2 separate regions of the Homo sapiens genome follow, and region 1 is linked to region 2. Evidence: promoter capture Hi-C in human tissues and cell types (Jung and others, 2019). All regions are on one chromosome and are shown on one strand. The core of a region is centred on a gene start or on the middle of the fragment in contact, and the rest is flanking DNA. Distances in the headings are between cores, read along the strand shown.

Region 1 (3,446 bases), core at 401-2,900, 54 kb after region 2:
GGAGGCAGTCTGTCCATTCTCCAAGCTCAAACACTGTGCTGAGAGAACCACTGCTCTCTTCAGAGCTGTCAGACAGGGATGTTTAAGTCTGCAGAAGTTTCTGCTGTCTTTTATTCAGCTATGCCCTGCCCCCAGAGGTGGCGTCTACCTTGCTGAGCTGCAGAGGGCTCCACCCAGTTCCAGCTTCCCCTGGCCGCCTTGTTTACCTACTCAAGCCTCAGCAATGGCGGATGCCCCTCCCCCTGCCAGGCTGCTGCCTTGCAGGTCGATCTCAGATTGCTGCACTAGCAGTGAGCAAGGCTCCATGGGCGTGGGAGCCTCTGAGCCAGGCATGGGATATAATCTCCTGGTGTGCCATTTGCTAAGACCATTGGAAAAGCGCAGTATTTGGGCAGGAGTATCCCGTTTTTCCAGATACTATTTGTTGTGGCTTCCCTTGGCTAGGAAAGGGAAATCCCCTGACCCCTTGCACTTCCTGGGTGAGGCGATAACCGGCCCTGCTTCATCTCACCCTCCATGGGCTGCACCCACTGTCCAACCAGTCCCAATGAGATGAACCAGGTACCTCAGTTGGAAATGCAGAAATCACCCATCTTCTGCATCAATCACGCTGGGAGTTGCAGACTGGAGCTGTTCCTACTTGGCCATCTTGGAACAGAATCTGGAAATTCTTTTCTTTAAGAATGTGGAATATTGGCCCCTAATCTCTTCTGGCTTGTAGGGTTTCTACTGAGAGGTCTGCTGTTAGTCTGATGGGCTTCCTTTCGTTAGGTGACCAAGCCTTTCTGTCTGGCTGCCCTTAACATTTTTTTCTTTCATTTTGACCTTGGAGAATCTGATGATTATGTGTCTTGGGGATTATCTTGTAAAGTATCTTACCAGGGTTATCTGCATTTCCTGAATTTGAATGTTGGCCTGTGTAGCTAGATTGCAGAAGTTCTCTGGGATGATACCCTGAAGTATGTTTTCCAAATTGATTCCAGCCTCTGCATCTCTTTTTGGTACCCAAATCTGTCATAGATTTAGTCTCTTTACGTAATCCCATATTGGAGGTTTCGTTCATTCCTTTTTCACTATTCTTGTCTGTCTGTAATTTCAGAAAGACAGTCTTCAAGCTCTGAGATTCTTTCCTCTGCTTGGTCTATTCTGCTATTAATACTTTGAATTGCATTGTGAAGTTCTTGTAGTGTGTTTTTTGGCTTTATAAGGTCGATTATGTTTCTCTCTATACTGGTTATTTTGGCTGTCTACTCCTGCATTGTTTTATCATGTTTCTTAGCTTCTTTGCATTGGGTTACAACATGCTCCTTTAGTTCAGCGAAGTTTGTTTGCTTGTTTTCATCCACATTCTGAAGACTACTTTTGTCATTTCAGCCATCTCAGCCTCAGCCCAGTTCTGAACCCTTGCTGGAGAGGTGTTGTGGTCATTTGGAGGAAAGGGGGCACTCTGGTTTTTTGAGTTTTCATTGTTTTTGCATTGATACTTTCTCATCTTTGTGGGCTTATCTACTTTTGATCTTTAAGGTTGCTCACCTTTGGATGGGTTCTTTTGTGTTTTCTTTTGTTGTTGTTATTGTTGTTTTTTCTTTGTTTGTTTTTCTTTTAACAGCCTGGCCATTCTTCTGTAGGGCTGCTGTGTTTGGCTGGGGGTCCAATCCAGACCCTAGTCACCTCGGTTTTTCTAGTACCTGAAGGTATCATCAGTGAATGCTGCAAAACAGCAAAGATGGCAGCCTGCCCCTCTCTCTGGGAGCTCTGCCCTGAGGGCTACTGACCTGTTGCTGGCCTAAACATGCCTGTACAAGGTGGCTGGAGACCCTGGTTGGGGTCACTAGGAACGAGATCAGGGACCTGCTTAAAGTATCAGTCTGGCTGCTTTTTGGTAGAGCAGCTGTGCTATGTTGAGGATCCCTTCAGCCCCCAATCCAAGGTCTGCAGGGTGGACTAGCTGAGATGCCCAAACAGCAAAGGTGGTGGCCTGCCCCATCTCGTGGGCTCCCCCATTCCAGGGAGAAATTAGAACTCTGTTGGTCATAGAACATGGGCAGGGGTGGCCTGGGGCCCCAGCTGGGAGGACCTGCCCAGCAAGGAGGAATGGATCCTGCCCCCTTTTATAGAAGCAGTCTGGCCACACCTTAACAAGACAGTCATGGAGTCCTGGGGACCCATCCCCGGCCATGTCAGCTTGGACTCACCAAAGCCCACAGGCTGGAATGGCTGAGTCACCCAAACAGCAAAGATGGTGACCTGCTCCTCCCCCTGGGCACCCATCCCAGGGAGAAATCAGACCTCTGTCCTTAGAGCAGGGTAGCCAGAGGCCCTGACTGGGAGGACCTGCCCTGCAAGGAGGAGTGGATTGGGTTCCTGTTTGAAGAAACAGTCTGACTACACCTTGACAAAAGAGCTCTGCCATGCTGGGGAGCTGCCTCTGTGCTGGTCAACTTGCACTCTCCACACCCTGCAGGCTGGAGTGGCTTAGTTGTCCAAACAACCAAGGCGGTGGCCCACACCTCTCCCTCAGGGAGAGATCAGAACTCTGTCCATAGAAAATGGGCAGGAGTGGCCGAAGGTTCCAGATGGGAGGTCCTGCCCAGTGAGGAGGAATGTTTTGGGATACTGCTTAAAGAGGCAATCTGGGCACATTCTGGCAAAGCAGCTCTGCTGTGTTGGGGGGAATCTTTCCTTGTCCAGACCATTTGGATTTTCCAAAGCTCACAGGCTGGAATGGCTGAGTTGACCAAACAGCAGAGATGGTGGCCTGCCTCTGTCCTCCGGGTCTCTGACCCATCTCAGGCAGGCTCCACCCTGTTGCTAGTAGCTGGCTGGAATCCAAGCCAGTAGATCTTATCTTGTGAGGTACCGTGGAAGTGAGGCCCACAGACTGACACTGGCCCCCTGGATTCAGCTCCCTTCCTAGGGGTATATACAGGTCTCCTGCCTTGCTGAGGATCCCAAAGCCAGAGTAGGTAAAGCTCCTGGGTCTCTGTGTGTGCCTGAGCAGCTGCTGTGCTGAGACTCTACACAGCTCTGTGTGTCGGACCCAAGGCCCTGTGGTGTGGGCTCACAAGGGAATCTCTTGATTTGACAGTTGCAAAGATCTGTGGGAGAAGTCTGGTTTCTTGGGGTCACACAGTCACTCACTGCTTCCTGTGGCTGGGGATGGGGGTTCCCTTGGCTCTGTGTTGCTCTCAGGTGGGCTATCGCCCCACCCTGCTTTTCTATGTTCTCCATGGGTCAAGCTGTTTTCCTGATCAGCCTCACTGCGAGTACCTGGATATTTCAGTTGGAGGTGTGGTATTCACTTGCTCCTTTCTTTCCTCTTTGTGAGAGCCAGGTACCACAGCTGCTTCTAATTGGCCATCTCTGCCCTCTCCCCATCAGCTTCATTTCCGGTACATCACACAAACCATAGCAAAATAAAATGTGTAATACATGCTTGTATTAGT
Region 2 (3,421 bases), core at 325-2,824:
AGAAGAATTACATAATTAGTGGCATAAGTAATGGGAATTAAATTTTTATTACTTTTGATATGTATCGTAAATTGCATTCCAAAAGCTTTTACTGTGCTACCCCAAATAAATTTTTATAGCAGGATACTGGGTATCCTGCTATAAAATTTTTACAATTTTTATTTTAGATTCAGGAGGTACATACACAGGTTTGTTCCCTGACTATACTGTGTGTTGCTGAGGTTTACTGTGAATGATCCTGTCACCCAGATACTGAGCATAGTGCTGGTATATTTCCCAGTCAAAGATGGTCCTGTTTAAATATTGTTGATTTGGGAAGAGTAAGGTTAAATTTCAAAAAGAGAAGTTCTTGCCTATTTGGAAATACATACTGAAAACATTTAAGATGAAATGAAATGGTCTCAGAGATTTGTTCACAAATAATCTGGAAAGAATAGTGGGGTAGGGTTATAGAGGAAAAAAGATTGGCCTTGTTTTGATAATTTTTAAAGCTGAGTTATGGGTACATGGGAGTTTATTATATTATTGTCTCTACTTCTGTGTATGTTTGAACTTTTCTTATAACAAATAAAAAAGAAAGAAAAAGAAAAACGTGACCCTGTCTAAACCTCTGATGTTTAGTCGTTAGTGCTCTCTGAGGTTTTACATTTCTTCTTGCTGTCACTTTTCTTCACTGTCCAAACAGGGTTTTGCCATCATGCACAGTTTCCTTATCTGGGAGTGTGGAAATAGGGTATAGGTAAAATCAGGAGCTTTTCAGAAGAAAATAACAGCTTCTAACTAGTTCTGAGTCTCCTTTAATTCAAATAAAAATCTGTGGCCTTTAATTAAAACAAAAATTGATCATGATGTGATGATATACTTTCTGATATAAATTCATTTAAAAAATGTTTCTGACCAGAAAGAAGAATATTAAAGTCATTCATCAGCATTTATCAAGTGCTCACTGGTGAAGCCTCTACTGTGTCCCTTGAGGCATTTGAAAACGACAATGTTCCTTGCCCTCAAGACGATAACAGCCTGTTTGGAGACACACAGCAAATGCTCAGAGATATTTAGATACAACATAATTTATGAAGGAGTATAAGTACTATACATTAACCAGTATTAGATTCCACATTCATTCTTTCATAGATAGGTACTGAGTGCCTATATTAATATTAATGACATAGAAGGAAATGTTACTATCCATGTAAACTTCACACATTCACACAGGTATCATTTCATCCTTAATCCTTCTTAGAATTGATGTCTTTACTGCTTCTCTTCCACTCTGACTTAATCAGTCCTAGAAATTGTTAATTTTCTTCCTTCTCTGCTGTCTTCAGAGAAGGCACCAGGAAAGGTTCCTTCCAAATCACAAGGAACATGTCATGGGATCCTCTTATAACAAAGCTGTTTTTTTACTTTATTTTATTTATGGTTAGGATTCAAGACTGACGGGCTAATTCAAATTCCTCCTACTACTGAGAAACAGAGTATTATATCAATACTAATAGAAATATCCACGTTGCTTACCTTGCTGTGTTTCTGAGTTCCGTGGTCCTAGCAGTTGTTTAGGAGTATTGTTAAAGTGCTTTTTCATCTGGTTTCATCTGGATATTTCTGATGGAATGTGATGACTTACAGACTTTGCTAGTCTCTGCTGGGTCCCTCTGCCTGTCTGGTTTATAGGCTATTTCTACATGGCTTGGCCCTCAGAATTCCTTCATTTCCTATTAATAAAAACTTAGTATACAGTATTAAGTTATATAAACTGGAAGACTAATAGTGTGTAAAACTTATTTTTAAATTTCTGTTCTTTAATGGACTTTTTATTGTTGAGAAGCGCTATATAACTGAGCTAATTCAATTTAGTAGAGAAGATGGCTCTTTGATTGCAGCTCTCAGATTTTGGGGTTTTATCTTGTCAACTATTCCAGATACTAAGTTTCTTTTAGCTTCTGTTGCATTTGCACCTCTAACTGTTGCTGATTATTTAAATTCTCAAGATATATAAATGCAGTTACTTGCATCCAATTTTTTTTTCTCTTCTTTCCAGCTAGGAGTTCTCCTCTTTGTCATTCTTTCTCTTCCTGTGTTTGTAAATTGTCTTGACAATATAAAAACCTTAAAGTCCAACTTCACTCTTTTCCCTGAAAGCTCAGATCAGTCTTCCCTGCTGCTTCTTCCCAGCTTCAGTCTTCAGACCCGTTAATTCCTCCACAGCAAAGACACCTGAGTGGCAGGGAAATCACTCAGCCCCAGTGTAACTTAGTGAAAGACAGCAGGCTTTACACTCAGACAGTCCTGGTTTTGTGTACTCCAAGTACCACTTACTAGTCATGTAATCCTAAGAAAGTCACTTAGCCTGAGTTTTCCCATTGGTGTAATATGAGTATTAGTTAATAATTTATGGATTAAATGGGATAGTGTTTATAAAGTAATTGGCATAGTGGCTGATATGTGGCAAAATCTTATGAAACGGTAGCTATTCATATATTAACAACAGTATCTCCTGGTGGAGGGGAGAGGAGAATGGGTGGGTACAGGATACAGAATCAAAATGCCAGACAGGCAGACAGGAAACTTTAAAATCTAAAGATGCTGCCCTGTGATTCTAAAGAAGGGCTAAGTGGGGTCACTTTTCTACTTTTGTCCCAGTGGATCATCTTGCCCTTGATGTATCCAGGGCCCCACCACGTACGGATGTGTGGCCAGTGTATCTGAACTAGGTATGGATGTTAAGTAGGATTTTAATAGATGTTTGGGGAGGATGGTGGTATAGAGGAAATAATACAGATAGAGGGAACACTGAGAGCAAAGGAGCTGAACCAAAAATTGTAGAACATTTTCAGGGAACAAAAACCAACCTGCTGGTGATACAGGGTGTAAGTGGGAGCAGTTAAGGGAAGGTAAGTCATGGAAAATTGAAAATAGTTTGTAGATAGCCTTAGATGTCATGCTAGGAAATTGTATTTCATTCTGTAGATAATAATGAACCATTAAAAAATCCTTTTAATTATGGTGTAATATTTGGAGATTTGGATTTCAGGAAGGGTACATTATGTAAACTTGATTAGTAGGTATGGACAATAAAGCATAAGTTACCAACCCCATTGCCTACAGTATGTGGACAAAATATGTCTGTCTTTTACCCTGTCTTAAAACAGTTGCATTTTGTTTCCGAAGAGGCTATTGTTGAAGAGTACCATTTAACCCACTTGTTCCTAAGGTGTTTGTTTCTCTCCTATTTCTACCCTTCTTAACATTTATTGCCTACTCATCCACTCCTTTCTCTCCTACCACATAGCAGCCTAAGTGGAGTTGCCAAAATTAAGGATAAACAGTAACAATGCAAAATAATTATCAGAGAAAAACTAGAAGCAATATTGACTTCATACTGAGCCCCCTAATCAACTTGAACTTCTTTTTTCTGCAA

Evidence for each region. Contacts are between HindIII fragments. The study calls those that stand out against the background at their distance.
Region 1: a contact is called between a fragment that was not itself captured here and the fragment with the promoter of SMCO3 in region 2, in 1 of the 25 tissues and cell types used here (hippocampus).

Annotation. Positions count from the first base shown.
Region 1 is chr12:14,866,826-14,870,271 of GRCh38, forward strand. No RefSeq gene overlaps it. Among named protein-coding and RNA genes, the nearest start is that of MGP, 17 kb to the right of the region's middle. The HindIII fragment of the contact is 5,221 bases long and covers 1-3,446 here.
Region 2 is chr12:14,812,608-14,816,028 of GRCh38, forward strand. It overlaps SMCO3 (single-pass membrane protein with coiled-coil domains 3), which reads right to left and starts at 1,575. Exons shown (of 2, transcript NM_001013698.2): 1 at 1,519-1,575. All of the region lies in intron 1 of C12orf60 (chromosome 12 open reading frame 60), which reads left to right. The HindIII fragment of the contact is 14,769 bases long and covers 1-3,421 here.